Regions from separate parts of the Homo sapiens genome. Here region 2 is linked to region 1. Evidence: promoter capture Hi-C in human tissues and cell types (Jung and others, 2019). All regions are on one chromosome and are shown on one strand. Each heading gives the region's core, a stretch centred on a gene start or on the middle of the fragment in contact. The rest is flanking DNA. Distances are from core to core; before and after follow the strand shown.

Region 1 (7,889 bases), core at 2,555-5,054:
GTGGCATGATCCCAGCTCACTGCAAGCTCTGCCTCTCGGGTTCATGCCATTCTCCTGCCTCAGCCTCCCAAGTAGCTGGGACTACAGGCGTCCGCCACCACTCCCGGCTAATTTTTTGTATTTTTAGTAGAGATGGGTTTTCACCATGTTAGCCAGGATGGTCTCGATCTCCTGTCCTCGTGATCCACCCGCCTCAGCCTCCCAAAGTGCTGGGATTACAGGCATGAGCCACCTCGCCCAGCCTTGAGACAGTCTTAATCTGTCACCCAGGCTGGAATGCAGTGGTGCAATCTCAGCTCATTGCAACCTCTGCTTCTTGGGTTCAAGGGATTCTCCTGCCTCAGCCTCATGAGTAGGTGGGATTACAGGCATGCACCATCACGCTTGGCTAATTTTTGTAATTTTAGTAGAGATGGGGTTTTGCCATGTTGGTTAGGCTGGTCTCGAACTCCCGGCCTCAAGTGATCTGCCCCCCCCCCCCCCAAAGTCCTGGGACTACAGGTATGAGCCACCGTACACAGCCATGAACCTTGATTTTTTTTTGTTTCTTGAAAATATTTCCTGATCATCATTCCTTATCAGTTGACAGATAACTTTCTTCTTCTTGTATTTTTTTTTACAGCTGCATAGTATTCCTTTTTGGGGACACATCCTGGTTAATCAGTTCCCTATTGATAGACACTAATTGCTTCCCATTGTAAACTAAAAATAAAATCCTGGGCTGGACCCGGTGGGTCACGCCTGTAATCCCAGTACTTTGGGAGGCTAAGGTGGGTGGATAATGAGGTCAAGAGATCGAGACCATCCTGGCCAACATGGTGAAACCCCATCTCTACTAAAAATACAAAAATTAGCTGGGCTTGGTGGCTCGCCTGTAGTCCCAACTACTCGGGAGGCTGAGGGAGGAGAGTTGCTTGAACCCGGGAGGCAGAGGTTGCGGTGAGCCGAGATTGCACCACTGCACTCCAGCCTGGCAACAGAGCGAGACTTGTCTCAAAAAAAAAAAAAAAATTCCTGGGCTGGGTGTGGGCATGGTGGCTCACGCCTGTAATCCCAATACTTTGAGAGACTGAAGCAGGAGGATCACTTCAGCCCAAGAATTCAAGGCTGCAATGAGCTATGATCTGCCATTGCACTCCAGCCTGGGCAACTGTGCTCGACTCTGTCTCAAAATCAAATAAACAAACAAACTAAGTCCCCTCAACTGACTAAACAGATCCTTCCTGGACAAAGAGATCCTAGGAAAATCTTTTTTTTTTTTCTTGAGACGGAGTCTCGCTGTCGCCCAGGCTGGAGTGCGGTGGCGCCATCTCGGCTCACTGCAAGCTCTGCCTCCCGGGTTCCCGCCATTCTCCTGCCTCAGCCTCCCGAGTAGCTGGGACTACAGGCGCCCGCCACCGTGCCCGGCTAATTTTATGTATTTTTAGTACAGATGGGGTTTCACCGTGTTAGCCAGGATGGTCTCGATCTCCTGACCTTGTGATCCGCCCACCTCGGCCTCCCAAAGTGCTGGGATTACAGGCGTGAGCCACCGCGCCCGGCCTATCCTAGGAAAGTCTTAAAAACTGAGTTCCTTCCCTCCACAAGATGGGAAGTCAGTCACACCTGGTTATACCTCCTCCCTTATGTCGTTTAGAAACAACAAACGACCGGCCGGGCGCGGTGGCTCAAGCCTGTAATCCCAGCACTTTGGGAGGCCGTAGGCGAGCGGATCACGAGGTCAGGAGATCGAGACCATCCTGGCTAGCAGGGTGAAACCCCGTCTCTACTAAAAATACAAAAAATTAGCCGGGCGTGGTGGCGGACGCCTGTAGTCCCAACTACTCGGGAGGCTGAGGCAGGAGAATGGTGTGAACCCGGGAGGCGGAGCTTGCAGTGAGCCGAGATCGCATCACTGCACTCCAGCCTGGGCGACAGAGCGAGACTCCGTCTCAAAAAAAAAAAAAAAAAAAAGAAAGAAACAACAAACGACCAACATTAACGTTAAAATAGAGATCACAAGACTGACAGAACAGACTCTTTGTGACAATTAGATACCAAATTATAAACAGGACCTAAGGCCATACTAGGCAAGAGTTAAATGACTAAGTGCAAGGTTTCTCTTTTTCTCTACCAGCTAAACCAGCACTGGCCTGGAGATAAACACAATTAAAACAGTTACAACTCTCTGCCAGATGCAGGCTAACTGACCTGTTCCACAAGCCTAACTATGGCTTTGATTAGACAAGAGACTGATTTCTGTAACTTTCTCCTGTTAAGAGACAACTAACCATGCATCCATGCATTGGTTCTGGCTGGCTTTTTCTTTTCTTTCTTTCTTTTTTTTTTTTTTGAGATGAAGTCTCGCTCTGTCACCCAGGCTGGCGTGCAGTGGCATGACCTCGGTCACTGCAACCTCTGCCTCCCGGAGTCAAGCGATTCTCCTGCCTCAGCCTCCAGCATAGCTGGGATTACAGGCGCGTGCCACCATGTCCCGCTAATTTTTGTATTTTTAGTAGAGACGGGGTTTCACCATGTTGGTCGGGCTGGTCTTGAACTCCCAACCTGAGGTGATCTGCCCGCCTTGACCTCCCAAAGTGCTGGGATTACAGGCATGAGCCACTGCACCCGGCCTGGGCTAATTTTTTGTATCTTTAGTAGAGACGGGGTTTCACCTTGTTGGCCAGGCTGGTCTCAAACTCCTGACCTCCTGATCCACCTGCCTCAGCCTCTCAAAGTGTTTGGATTACAGGCTGTGAGCCACCGCGCCCAGCCCAGTTCTGGCTGGTTTTACAGAGGCCAAGCACTTCAATACCTTTCCCGTCCCTGATTCACTTTCTGATGTGGAGGGCCTGATTATAATACTTTTACTTTATTTATTTTTTAATTGTTGTTTTTTGAGACGAGGGTCTCACTCTATCACCCAGGCTGAAGTGCAGTGGCATGATCTCAGCTCACTGCAACCTTCGCCTCCTGGGTTCACACAATTCTCCCACCTCGGCTTCCCAAGCAGCTGAGGCTACAGGTGCATGCCACCACGTTCGGCTAATTTTGTATTTTTAGTAGAGATGGGGCTTCACCATGTTGGTCAGGCTGGTCTCAAACTCCTGACCTCAGGTGATCTGCCCACCTTTGCCTCCCAAAGTGCTGGGATTACAGGCATGAGCCACCGCGCCCTGCCTGATTATAATACATTTAAATGTTAAGTCGCCACCCCAAATGAACATAGGTCATATGCAACATACAGATTTGTTCACTATGTGTGTAAGACCACCTTCATACATATTAATAGCTCCTTCCATAAGTTAAATATGTTTACTTGGCCAACTCCTCAATATAAATTCTTGTTGCACCCTTCCCTCTCTCAAAGTGCTTACTTTTGTTTTTTTTGGCCCGAGGCTGCACGTCCTGCCTACAGCTTATAATCCCCTTCTTAAGAAATAATGCTCTCCTTTCTAAATTTATAAACGGTGTCATTTTTAAGTTAACACTATCTTTTGCTACTACCAAAAATGTAGGACAGGAATTTTTATTCCACGCCAACTCTTCCAGAGTCTTGAAGTCTTCCTGCAGATTGTTAATGAACAATTATAGCAAAAAATGAATGAATGAATTAACGAATGTATAAGTGGATGAATGACGAATGAACCAACAATGAATGAATGTAGAGAAAGCCTCAAGGGGGCCCGAGGGTACGCTGTGCTGCGGAGCATGCCCACCAGGTGGCGATGCCAGCGGCGGGCGGGCCTGGCCGGATTGGCCGCGCCGCTCTTGCCGTGGGTGCCGACGGCGGCGCCGGGACGGGCGTGGGGGGTAGGGCGAGTCATATGATCCGCTCGGCTTCCTGGGTCTGGCTGCTGCCGCCCGCCGGTGTCCGCCCGTGTCGCGCCGGGGCACCAAGGAGCCGTTGGAGGGTCCGGGCGGAGGCCCGCTCGTGTGGAAGTCGTCGACGCCGCCGCTCGTCCGTCCTCCCGTCCGTTCTCGCTCCCGGCCGCCATCATGCTGGCGCTCATCTCCCGCCTGCTGGACTGGTTCCGTTCGCTCTTCTGGAAGGAAGAGATGGAGCTGACGCTCGTGGGGCTGCAGTACTCGGGCAAGACCACCTTCGTCAATGTCATCGCGGTGAGCGCCCGCCCACTCACTCGCCCGGGGCTCCGCAGCCAGGAGTCCGGCCCGGCGCTTCTCCAAGGCCTGAGTTGGGGCCCCCCTCGGCGCGATGGGACTGATGGCGGGGGGCGTGCGAAGCTGGGCCTGTCATCTCCCGAGGGCCAGCATTTGGAATTTCCCGCGTGTTGGCGGCGCGGGGAGTAGCACTGAGATCGGCAGCGGAAGGGTTAAGTCAGTGTAGACATTTTCCAAGGGCTGTGTCCTCAACGCCGCGGGGGCTCGGAAAGAGTTAAATTGAACTCGTCACATTTTTAAAGCGCTTGGGGATTGGGGTTTCCCTTGGGTTTGCCCAGTAGGGGCAGCCAAAGAGTTAAGTCCAGTCTGTCACTTTCCCAAAGGGTGGGATTTGGCAAATCCGTCAGCCGTACGAGAAAGCGTAAGCATTAAGAGCCTCTCTTAAGTTGCCACTTTGGACCAATAGACCCATTGTGAAAGCGGGAGACCAGTGTGAGCGCCTTCCTGAATTCTGTGGGCCGCTGGTCCCATCTAATTCAGTTACTTGTTTTCACCCGTCCCCCAGGCGCGGAGACCAAGCTCATTGCTGAGCTCCAGCTAGCCCACAATACATAGTATTTATTAAGCTAAGAGTTAATTGTCTTAAGCGACTAGATAAGATGGATCTGCAGTTAGCATAAAGTTAACTACCCTGCGAAAGAGGAGTTGGTCTTTAAATGGTGTTTTTCACTTGAAGAGAAAAGAAGGTACTGGGCAGGAACATAGCTTAGCAGGCCTAGGGAATGGGTGGAAGGAAAATTGCACTGAGGACTTACATAGAATGTGGTGTTTGTTCAGCAATGATTGAGTAGAAAGGTGATTGTTTCGTTTTGCTTGTTTGGTTGGTTGGGAAATAAATAGGAGTGAAAGATTTCGCCTCGATCTTTATTTAGAGCCCAAGAGTTGTTGTGACTCAGTTTTAGCTGGTAGTGGCTTGTACACGCCAGGGGAGTTTTAGAACTGTTCTGAAGAGAGATGGCAGCAGTTCTTCCACCTTTTCGATGACTGTTGAAATCCTGAAGATTAGCTGTCCGACTGGTTAGGTTACACAAGATGATTCAAACACAGCTTTCATGTTTGAGAAAATAGGTAACTTGTGATTCTTAGTCCTTGCACTAATAAAGCAACAGGAATGAGTAAGTCTTGGAGAAAAAGAGATTAGCAGAAACCCCAAAGTCCTTTGAAGAATGATGTATATAAGGAAGATTTACCTGCTTGTTGTTCGGCTCCTTTTCTAGTAGTATTATTATTAATTTTTTTTCTTGAGACGGAGTCTCGCTTTGTCCCCCAGGCTGGAGTGCAGTGGCGAGATCTCAGCTCACTGCAACCTCCACCTCCCAGGTTCAAGCGATTTTCCTGCCTCCACCTCCTGCGTAGCTGGGATTACAGACGTCCTCCACCACGCCCGGCTAATTACTTTTAGTAGAGATGGGTTTTGCTTTGTTGCTCAGGCTAGTCTCAAAACTCCTGACCTCATGTGATCCGCCCGACTCGGCCTCTTAAAATGCTGGGATTGCAGGTGTGAGCCACCGCGCCTGGCCTCCTATTGTAATATTATGATTTTTTGCGCTTGGAATGACTATCTTTCCGCAGGAATAGAAGAGTGGAATGTGTATCTAATACCACTAATTTTTTTTTTTTTTTTTTTTTTTTTTTTCTGGTAGAGACAAGATCTTCCTATGTTGCCAGGCCAGCCTTGAACTCCTGGGCTCAAGCGAGCCTCCTGCCTCGGCCTCCCAAAGTGCTGGCATTACAGGCATGAGCCACCGTTCCTGGCCTAATACCACTAAAATTAATGAGGAAACATGAACTTCGGGTTACATATTTATATTAGAATTTTTTTCTTTTCTTTTTTGGAGACAGGGTCTTGAGCTTTCACCCAGACTGGAGTGCAGTGGTGCAGTCGTAGCTCACTGCAGCCTCCAACTCCTGGGCTTATGTGATCTTCCCTGTCTCAGCCTCCCAAGTAGCTGGGACTACAGGCATGTGCTACCACCATGGCTCGCTATTTATTTTTAATTTTTATTTTTTATAAAGACGGGCTCTTGCTATGTTGCCAGGGCTGGTCTTGAGCTCCTGGCCTCAAGCAGTCTTCCTGCCTTGGCCTCCCAGCATACTGGGATTATAAGCCTGCTAGAGCTTTTATATAATATGGAAAAGATGAGGCATAAGCTTGAGTGAAGTTGAGCTCAGTTAACTGTAAATTTTCTCATATCCCCTTGAGATGAGAATTGGAGTCATCTTGTAAAACTTGCTCTTTGACAACATGGAATTAATGTTTCATGTGGATAGGTGTATTAATACAGCCAGTTGTATTTGTTGCAGTTGAGTTGTTATGCTTGGGAACTCTAAAAAGTTGAGCAAATCTTTGAGAAACTTCTTGGTGATTTTTATGCTTCTGTTTTCAGTAGACAGTGTAGCTTAATGAGCATGACCTTTGAAGTCAGACAGCCCTGGATTTGAAATCTGGCTCTGCCGCTTAGCAGCCTTACATCCTCTTTGAGTCCTTACTTTCCCATCTATTAAATGGAGGTAATGATATGTTTCTTACAGAGTTGCTCTAGGGATTAAATGACATGAAAGATGTTAAGTGGCTAGCACTCATACTGGCCCACAGAAGGGGATAGGTAGATGGTAACTGTTGTTATTTGTAATTGGGCGTACCTGTTTAATGCAGGAACGATGGCTTGAAAAATACTGAGAAGGGACTCAACTGGTATCATTTTCTACTTTGAATCACTGTATCTATCCAGATGTGGGCTGCAGTAGTGGATTTATGGATTGGGGAAAGTAATCGCATCATGTGTTCCCCCCTGCCCCGCCCCCACCATTAGATTATTATATTTAACAACAACAAAACTTCTGCAAAGCTGTTGAAGTCAAAGTGAACCAGTGGCTCCACCATTATCTTTTTTTTTTTTTTGAGACGGAGTCCCGCTGTGTTGCCCAGGCTGGAGTGCAGTGGCATGATCTTGGCTCACTGCAACCTCTGCCTCCTGGGTTCAAGCTATTCTCGTGCCTCAGCCTCCCGAGTAGCTGGGACTACAGGCGACTGCCACCATGCCCAGCTAATTTTTGTATTTTTAGTAGAGACGGGGTTTCACCATGTTGGGCAGGCTGTTCTCGAACTCCTGGTCTCAAGTAATATGCCTGCCTTGGTCTCCCAAAATGCTGGGATTACAGGCGTGAGCCACTGTGCCCAGCCCACTGTTATCATTAGACTATTCTTTTTAAAATTGTAATGGTGTGGGTAGCTTCAGTTAAGAAAAAAAAAGTCACAAAGATAAGGTGATGGATGTGTAATTGGCTTGAATTAGTCATTCCACACTGTAAACATGTATCAGAACATCTCATTGTACTCCATAAATGTATACAATTATGATTTGTCAATTAAAAGTAATATTAATTTAAAAAAGAAAAAAGACATCTGGGCTGTAATTGGCTGTGGCTTTTAAGATGCTGAAAGGGACCCCCTCAGTGAATTTCATACTTTTTTTTTTTTTTAACCTCAAGGCTCTAACCTAACCCCTGATTCTTATAGAATATGTTGAGGATGTAGTGATTAAAATCCAAGTTAGTGATTAAAGATGATTTTAGAGATTTTTAGGTAGAAACAATGTGTCCAAAATAGTAAGTTTAGCCTTTTAAAAAATCAGCTGCACTTTTTGTATTGTATATAAAATAGTTGCTTTATAGAATCAGAAATACAGATGTATTGAGTACTATGTGTCACTCTAGAAAGGTGACCA
Region 2 (7,889 bases), core at 2,695-5,194, 320 kb before region 1:
TGAGCATGCCGTGATGGCTAAAGCAAATGTAGTACTACTTTTTAAATGTTTTTATTATTGAAATTGTCAAATATACACACAAGTAGAAAGAACAGTATAATGAGCTACCATATATCTATCAGCCAGCTTTAACAATTTTGCCTATCTTGTTTCATCTATCCCCATACTATATTTTCTGAAACATTTTAAAGAAGTCTAGACATCTTGGATTTTTTGTCCATAAATATTTCAGTGTATAACTTATGAGGACATTTTAAAATATGTATAATCACCATGCCATTATCATATCTAACAAAACTAACAGCAAATCCTGTAATAGCCTGCCCAAATTCAGATTTCTCCAACTGTCTCAAAGATGTCTTTCTAGAGTTGATTTTTTGGAATCTAGCACTATGTTTTTTAACACTGCCGTTATAGTGAGGAGACAGCATTTTTACATTGGCCTCTTCAGGATTTGGGACATACATTGTACTGGTCACATTGATGATACTGAGATCATCTTAAGAGTCCATTTAAAATGGCATTAAGCATTTCAGAAAATGATAAGCCACAGACTGGGAGAAAATAGTTGCAAAATATATATCTGATAAAAAGCTTATGTCCAGAATATGTAAAGAACTCTTACAACTCAACAATAAAAAAACTATTCAATTAAAACAGTGGGCAAAGCATTTGATCAGACACTTCACAGAAGAAGATGTATGAATGGCCAGTAAGCACATGAAACGATGTTGAGCATCACTAGTTATCAGGGAAATGTAAATTAAAATCACCACACCATACCACTGCAAACCTACTAGAATGACTAAATGAAAAAGATGGGCACTGCCAAGTATTGGTGATGCTGTGGATCAGATGGAACTGTCATACACGGCTGGTGGGAAGGCAGTGTGATACATTCACCTTGGAAAACAGTTTGGTATTGTCTTTTAAAGTTAAACATATCTGTAGGATCCAACATTCTACTTCTCTATGTTTGTCCAAGTGAAATGAAAATATGTCCACTCCAAGAATTGAACATGAATGTTTCTAGTAGCATTATTTGTAATCACTCCAAACTGGAAACTCATTGATTGTTAACTGGACAAATAAATTGTAATATATCCATACTATAATATAGTCAGCAATAAAAAGTACAAAGTATCAATACATACATGGTAACCTGGATGCATCTTAAAAACTTGCTCAGTGAAAGAAGTCAAGCACAAAGGACTACCTGATAGGATTATTTTCCCATTTTTATGAAATTCTAGAAAGTGCAAAGCTATAGGGACTGACACTATTAGATCAGTGGTAGCTGGGGGTAGGGATGGGGCAAGGCATCACCTGCAAAGAGGCACAAGGAGACTTTTAGAGTGATAAAAATGTTCTGTATCTTGACTGTGGTGACAATTACATGCGGTGGTCACATGACTATATAAACTGCCAAGATTCACCAAATTTTACACTTAAAATGCATGGATTTTTTAAAATATTGATTAAGGACCATCGACTTCAGAGGCAAATGGTCTGCAGCCATTTGCTGCATCACTTTGGGCAAGAAATGTAACCTGAGACTCAGTTTCCTTTAGAGTAGACCGGGGACAGTAGGATGAATAAATGATCATCAACATCAAGGGCTTGACACGATGTCTAACAATTGTTAAATGCGTAGAAAGCGGCACATGTGCCTCAATGTGCACTTCTTGAATTTCTGAGAAACCTCTGCCTCTTTGTCCCCATTCCCAATCAGCTTTGCCTTTTGAAGGATTTCAAAAGGGAAGAGGTAAGTGGCTGGGCTGGGGGGAACAGTTGTTAAAGTGAGGCTGAATCTCCGCAGGCGTGGACTCAATGAACTAGGGCAGCCAGCAGCTGGTGGAAGAGCTGTGCCCTGCAAAGGTGTCTCCTCCCCAGTGGTGCCACAATCCAAGCATCTCTGAAGAAGTGAAGCTCCTTTATATAAGTGGCCTTAATCATGTAGTGCTGCTTGTTTACATCTGAAGGAGACTCAAAATGTGACAGCATTTGAAATAGGGGTGTTTTTTTTTTAATGAGTGTTTTACAGAACTATATTTTTAGCCGTGTTGGCTCATGTTATATAACCAAGCCGTCTCGTGGGACACTCTAAATAGAACTTGCAGTAGCAAGAGATGACAAAAATTGGTATAAGCTCTTTGACTGCAGGGATAATCTAATTGTAGCATGATGCTCATGACACGGAAGTTGCCTTTCTCCTTCCCTTGGAGAAATCTGATTCAGGCAGGGGACCTGCAGTTTTCCTTTGCATACTTTTAATAGAAATTAAGTTTAGGCTTCCACGTCGCCTTCTTTGAGTGAAGTGTGACACATGCATGAGTTTTATTTCTCGAACGAGCTTTTCGTGAGTACCTGCCAGGCACCAGGTACTTCCCCTGGGGAATGTGCAATCTGGTGAGAGAGAGACAAGTAAACTGACCATTAGGAAATAGTGTCCTGTAGGGATGACTGGAAGCAGGGAGTACGGAGGAGGAGGGAACTCCTGACATGTTTTTGTGGGGAGGAAGGGGATTGGGGGAGGCTTCCTGGAAGAAGTAATGTCAAAGCTAAGACCTGAGATGAATGAGAAGGGAAGAACTTCCCAGCAGAAGGAGCATGTGTGGAGGCTTGGAGGTCAAAAAATGCTGATGGGACTGGTTATGGATGGGGCAGAGAATTTGAGGTGAGAGTTGGGACTGGTAAGCCAAAAAAGTTATTGAGGAATCTGTAACAGTGCATGTTTTAGGTCTGTCCCCTGTACTCAGTGAAGGCACAGATTTGTGAGAGAACCCTGTTTTGTCCTTGCAGGAACCCTGGAGCCCCACTGGTCGGGACTCCTGTGGACAGCCATGCTCATCTCTCTGGCCATCGTCATTGCCCTCCCCAAGCCCCATGGCATCCGGGCCTTAATTGCCTCCACAATTCTACGACTGATATTTTCAGTCGGGTTACAACCCACGTTGTTTCTTCTGGGCGCTTTCAATGTAAGTGTGAATACCTTCCTTGCCACTGTTTTGTTTGCAGATTAATAGGAATGCCTTGCACTCTGGTTTCTAGAATCCTGGCCTGTGCTTTCAGTCCAGAAAATTATTGTTTGGGGCAACTGTTTAAATAGCCAGAAGCAGGGGATGGCTGCAGGTGGACGTCTCCCTCTTGACCTCCGCGTGGTGCAGTGAGCCTTGTAATGGATCCCTTGGGCATCAGCACTTTCACTTTTAGGGACTATCCCTGTCAGGAGATAGGCAGAAAAAGTGGTAGTGCTTTGAGATTTAAGTTAGTTTTGCCAATCTGGTCAAAGGTTTGTTGGGACAGAAGATTTTAGACAATAAGTGAAATGATCAAATATTAACACCGTACCCACTTCTGGAAAGGGCCACATAGAAAAGAGGGGATAGGTAAGAGGGCCTGGCCAAATACAGAGACAGGGCAGGTGGAGAGGGAAGAGGAGAAGCAGAGACAATTCTTTAAAAGTCAGTGGTGACATTTAGAAATGCTGTTTCACTACCATTGAAAGATAGAAGCCAATTTCATCTCTGGGAGAATTCTTAGGACAAACTGATATAAAACCATACATTGGAGAGGTTTCCTTGTGAAGGGAAGGAGAAAATTTGGACATGTGAGGCACTGGAGGATCTAAAAATGCCTTCCAGGGGTTTCTGCCCTGAGTATATAAGGAAGCTGAGGTCCCATGCAAAACTGGAAGTGATATCGCAAAATAATATAGTAATTCAGTGCAACAGCAAAAGCCCCAAAGGGAGTATTCAAATGGCACAGGCAGCAAGGACTTTAGAGAACAGGTCATGTCAAGCTGAAAAGCTTACAGCGGGGAGGAGGCAGGATGGAAGTTAGGGCTTAAGGAATGGAGGGCCAGGCTCGGTGGCTCACATCTATAATCCCAGCACTTTGGGAGGCCAGGGTGAGCAGATCACTTGAGATCAGGAATTTGAGACCAGCCTGGCTAACATGGCAGAACCCTATCTCTACTAAAAATACAAAAATTAGCTGGGTTTGGTAGCATGCGCCTATAATCCTAGCTACTCGGGAGACTGAGGCAGGAGAATCACTTGAACCTGAGAGGTGGAGGTTGTAGTGAGCTAAGATGGCACCACTGCACTCCAGCCTGGGTGACAAAGGGAGACTCCATCTCAAAAATAAATAAATGAACAAATAAATAAATAATTTTTAAAAAAAAGGGAATGGAGAGGATCTGGCCATGAAGCGGGGATTGAGAAGAGTTCTTTGGTTTCGTGGGCCCCATAGGCCAGAGCAGAACAGTGGGAAAGCTCGGGATGTTATCAACAGACAATAAATAAAGAGTTTCACCTCATTCGTGGTTCAGTAGTGATCAGTAGGAACTGATCCTGTGTAAGTCACTTGCAGCACTGAATTTTAGGATAAAGCAACTGGACTTCATCCCCCAGGTCAGCATTCCCAGAGCATATTCCACGTTGATAAATATGAGGTGAAAAAAGGGTTCCGTGATTGAATCCGCATGAAAAATGCTGAGGTAAACACAATGAAAGGTTTCATTACTGCAGGCTTCCTCACAGACTTTAATGTACTAATATGGATTAGGAACCTCCAAGGAAAACAGTGTCTTTCTGTTTCCCAAACTTATTTTCCTGCAGTTTTTTGTAAGTATCACTTGAGATTAGTGTTGTATAGAATGTATGTTGGAAACTCTGTTCCCAGTAGTGGAAAGTGCCTGTGGTGTTTTTGAGCCAAGAAATGGTCCATACAAAGAAGTATTCTTGAGAAAATGCATTCAGTATGGCTTGTTATGTGGATTCATCAGGAGGGACTAGAGGCAAGGAGGCTTTTTAGGGGCTGTAGCGACGCTTTGATTAGGTTTGAGAAGCCTGAGTCTTGGACATAGTGTAGAAGAAAGAAGGAAGGTATGGACGTCAGAAATGGGAAGGAAACAGGCTGGGCACCGTGGCTCAAGCCTGTAATCCCAGCACTTTGGGAGGCCAAGGCGGGAAAATTGCTTGAGGCCAGGAGTTCAAGACCAGCCTGGCCAGTATGCATGTGAAACCCCTCTCTACTAAAAAAAAATACAAAAATTAGCCTGGCATAGTAATGCATGCTTGTAATCCCAGCTACTTGGGAGGCTGAGGCACGAGAATCTCTTGAACCTGGGAGGCAGAGGTTGCAGTGGGCTGAGATGGTGCCACTTCACTCCAGCCTGGGTGACAGAATGAGACTGATTAAAAAAAAAAAGAAAGAAAGAAAGAGAAAGAAAGAAAGAGAGAAAGAGAGATGAGGAAATAGTAACACATGGTGGGCACAGAGTCAGAGCCTTACCCCACCCAGAAAGCAATGTGCTTCTATTAGTTCGTTCTCACATTGCTATAAAATGCCTGAGACTCGGTAATTTATAAGAAAAGAGGTTTAATTGGCTTGAGGTTTTGCAGCTGTACAGGAAGCATGGCAGCATCTGCTTCTGGGGAGGCCTCAGGGAGCTTTCACTCATGGCGGAGTAAAAGCAGCAAAGTTGGAGCTGGAACAGGAGGAAGCGGATGGGGAGGCGCTACACGCTTTTAAACAACCAGCTCTCTATCACTATACTGTATCCGGGACAGGTGGCGCTAAACTATTTATGATCCAGTCACCTCCCCCCAGGCCCCACCTCTGACACTGGAGATTACAAGTTAACAGATTTGGGGGGGACACAGAACCAAACCATACTGCCACTCTGGGTCCCTTTTTCAGACAAAGAGGGTATCACTGTCTTGATTGGGTAATGAAGGAGGCAAATATGACTCCAAATTTTCAGTCACAAATGATTGGGAGAAGAATAATGTGGCCATCTAAAATGAAGTCATGCAAAGATTTAGTTTTTCAGGGTGAAAATGCATTTACATCGTTGACCTACTGGGCTTCAGGTGGAAAGACACGCTGTTAACGTGAGCTGCGGCATTTGGAAATACATGACCAGAACTACAGAGAGAGATCAGTGTGGGGAGGGGAATGTAGGGATTGCCTGCAGTGAGAGGAAACCATTTAAGAAAGAAATACAAAAGAATTACATAAACAACTAGGTAGAAAAAATGTTCAGTATTTCAGAGGCTGTCTTCTATGGGCTGTCTAGTTCTTTTCTTCTCTGGCCTTCTCTGATAATCATTCCACAGTTATCACTTCTTTAACACAAATCAGTTGGGGGAAAGACTCAACTGAGATAATTAATTACCATTTACAACAACATAAGCTGGTAGGGGGCAAACAGCTATAATAAATAATTATTTAGAGTAAATTTTATTTTACATTTTTTTTGAGACAGAGTCTCGATCTGTCACCCAGGCTGGAGTACAGTGGTACAATCTCGGCTCACTGCAACCTCCGCCTCCTGGGTTCAAGCAATTCTCCTCCCTCAGCCTCCCAGGTAGCTGGGACTACAGGTGTGTGCCGCCATGCCTGGCTAATTTTTTGTATTTTAGTAGAGACGAGGTTTCACCGTGTTGCCCAGGCTGGTCGCGAACTCCTGAGCTCAGGCAATCCACCCGCCTCGGCCTCCCAAAGTGCTGGGATTATAGGCGTGAGCCACCATGCCCCGCCTAGAGTGAATTTTAAAAGAGAGAAACACCCACATGGAATGTATGGGAGAGGGAAAGTACCTGTGGACGGAGACAGAGAGAGAATATTGGAGTTCTGAGAGCTGGAGGAGGAGAAGGTGGGGTCCTAAAGCCCAGCTGGGAGAGTGGTGAGCAGGGTGCGCTGGGAGACTTGTCACGCCGCAGGGAGCTGGGAAAGATGCTAAGAGCAGACGGGAAGACTGCTGGGTGCGCAGAATCCTTGGAGACTTCACATGAGCTGTCTCTGTTGAGAGGTGGGGATGGAAGCCAGATCTAAGACTAACAAGCAGAGTCCAGCCGCAGGCTGAGACCACAAATAGCAGCTATTTCCTGGGGAAGCAATGGAGAAAACTAGGGCAGAAGTTAGAGGGGAGAATGGACTCAGGTGAAGTGGATCACCCTGTTGTTAAGTTGGCAGGATCTGGGGTGTGTTTGAGGTGCTGTAATGTGTGATGTCACCCAGGGCACCATCTGCCTCTCCCTGAAACCACATCATCATGGATCATCCAGAATCAGTGATACTTTCCCACCCTCTGAAATCCCCTCCACTAGCAAAGGTGAGAATTTTGGAAAAAATTGGCAGATTGAATGCTTAGCCTGTCTGAGAAAGCCAGCAGCGATCTGTGGGTGTCGGCTTCCTCGCTTATCTGATTGCCGAGAAGCTCACTTACACCGACCTACCAGATTAACTGGCAGTATTTCCCCCGCACCTGTGGCCAAGGGAGCTAGAGTAGCAGAAGATGGTTTTACCAAGTGCATCCAGAGAGGTCCCTCTCTGGCCTCCTCCTGAGCCAAGTTTTTCTGTCAACATATTGCTAGAGATGGACTTCCAGGCATTGGGGTTTCTATCAAAGGTGAGACTATATTGCACAGTAGTTCAGTTAGGACTCCTTCAGTTGCAGATGTCAGAAAACCTAATCCATGCTAGCCTCAGCAAAGGAGAATATGTATTGGTTCATTTTGACCAAGAAACCAACAGCCTCGCTTCAGGCACAGCTGATACAGGGGCTCACACAGTGTCCTCAGGGCCCAGTTCCTCCTTGCCATCTTTTGGCTCTGTGTCCCCAGTGCTGGTGGTGCCTTCAGTGTTGGTAATGTGGCAGCTCCAGAGTTCACAGCTGCTCAGGTTCAAGGTCAGTGGGAAAGAACAAAATTATCTTTGGCTGCAATCCCAAGAAAGAGCTCAGTGGACATCATTGGCTCCATTTGGTCCTGTGTCTATCTCTAAACCAGTCATTGTACCCAGGGGAATACAATATTGTGATGGCCAGGTTGGAGCCCCACCCAGACCTCAAAGACTGCTACTCAGAGAGGAATGGTCCC

The links. Contacts are between HindIII fragments. The study calls those that stand out against the background at their distance.
Region 2: a contact is called between a fragment that was not itself captured here and the fragment with the promoter of ARL8B in region 1, in 1 of the 25 tissues and cell types used here (thymus).

What each region holds. Positions count from the first base shown.
Region 1 is chr3:5,118,488-5,126,376 of GRCh38, forward strand. It overlaps ARL8B (ARF like GTPase 8B), which reads left to right and starts at 3,805. Exons shown (of 7, transcript NM_018184.3): 1 at 3,805-4,101. The coding sequence starts at 3,979. LOC124906212 (a long non-coding RNA gene) reads left to right here and starts at 4,572. Exons shown (of 2, transcript XR_007095800.1): 1 at 4,572-5,229. RefSeq lists silencers at 3,611-3,870, 7,257-7,551. The HindIII fragment of the contact is 21,507 bases long and covers 1-7,122 here.
Region 2 is chr3:4,797,623-4,805,511 of GRCh38, forward strand. It overlaps ITPR1 (inositol 1,4,5-trisphosphate receptor type 1), which reads left to right. Exons shown (of 62, transcript NM_001378452.1): 54 at 2,803-2,978. Among named protein-coding and RNA genes, the nearest start is that of EGOT, 50 kb to the left of the region's middle. The HindIII fragment of the contact is 7,959 bases long and covers 1-7,889 here.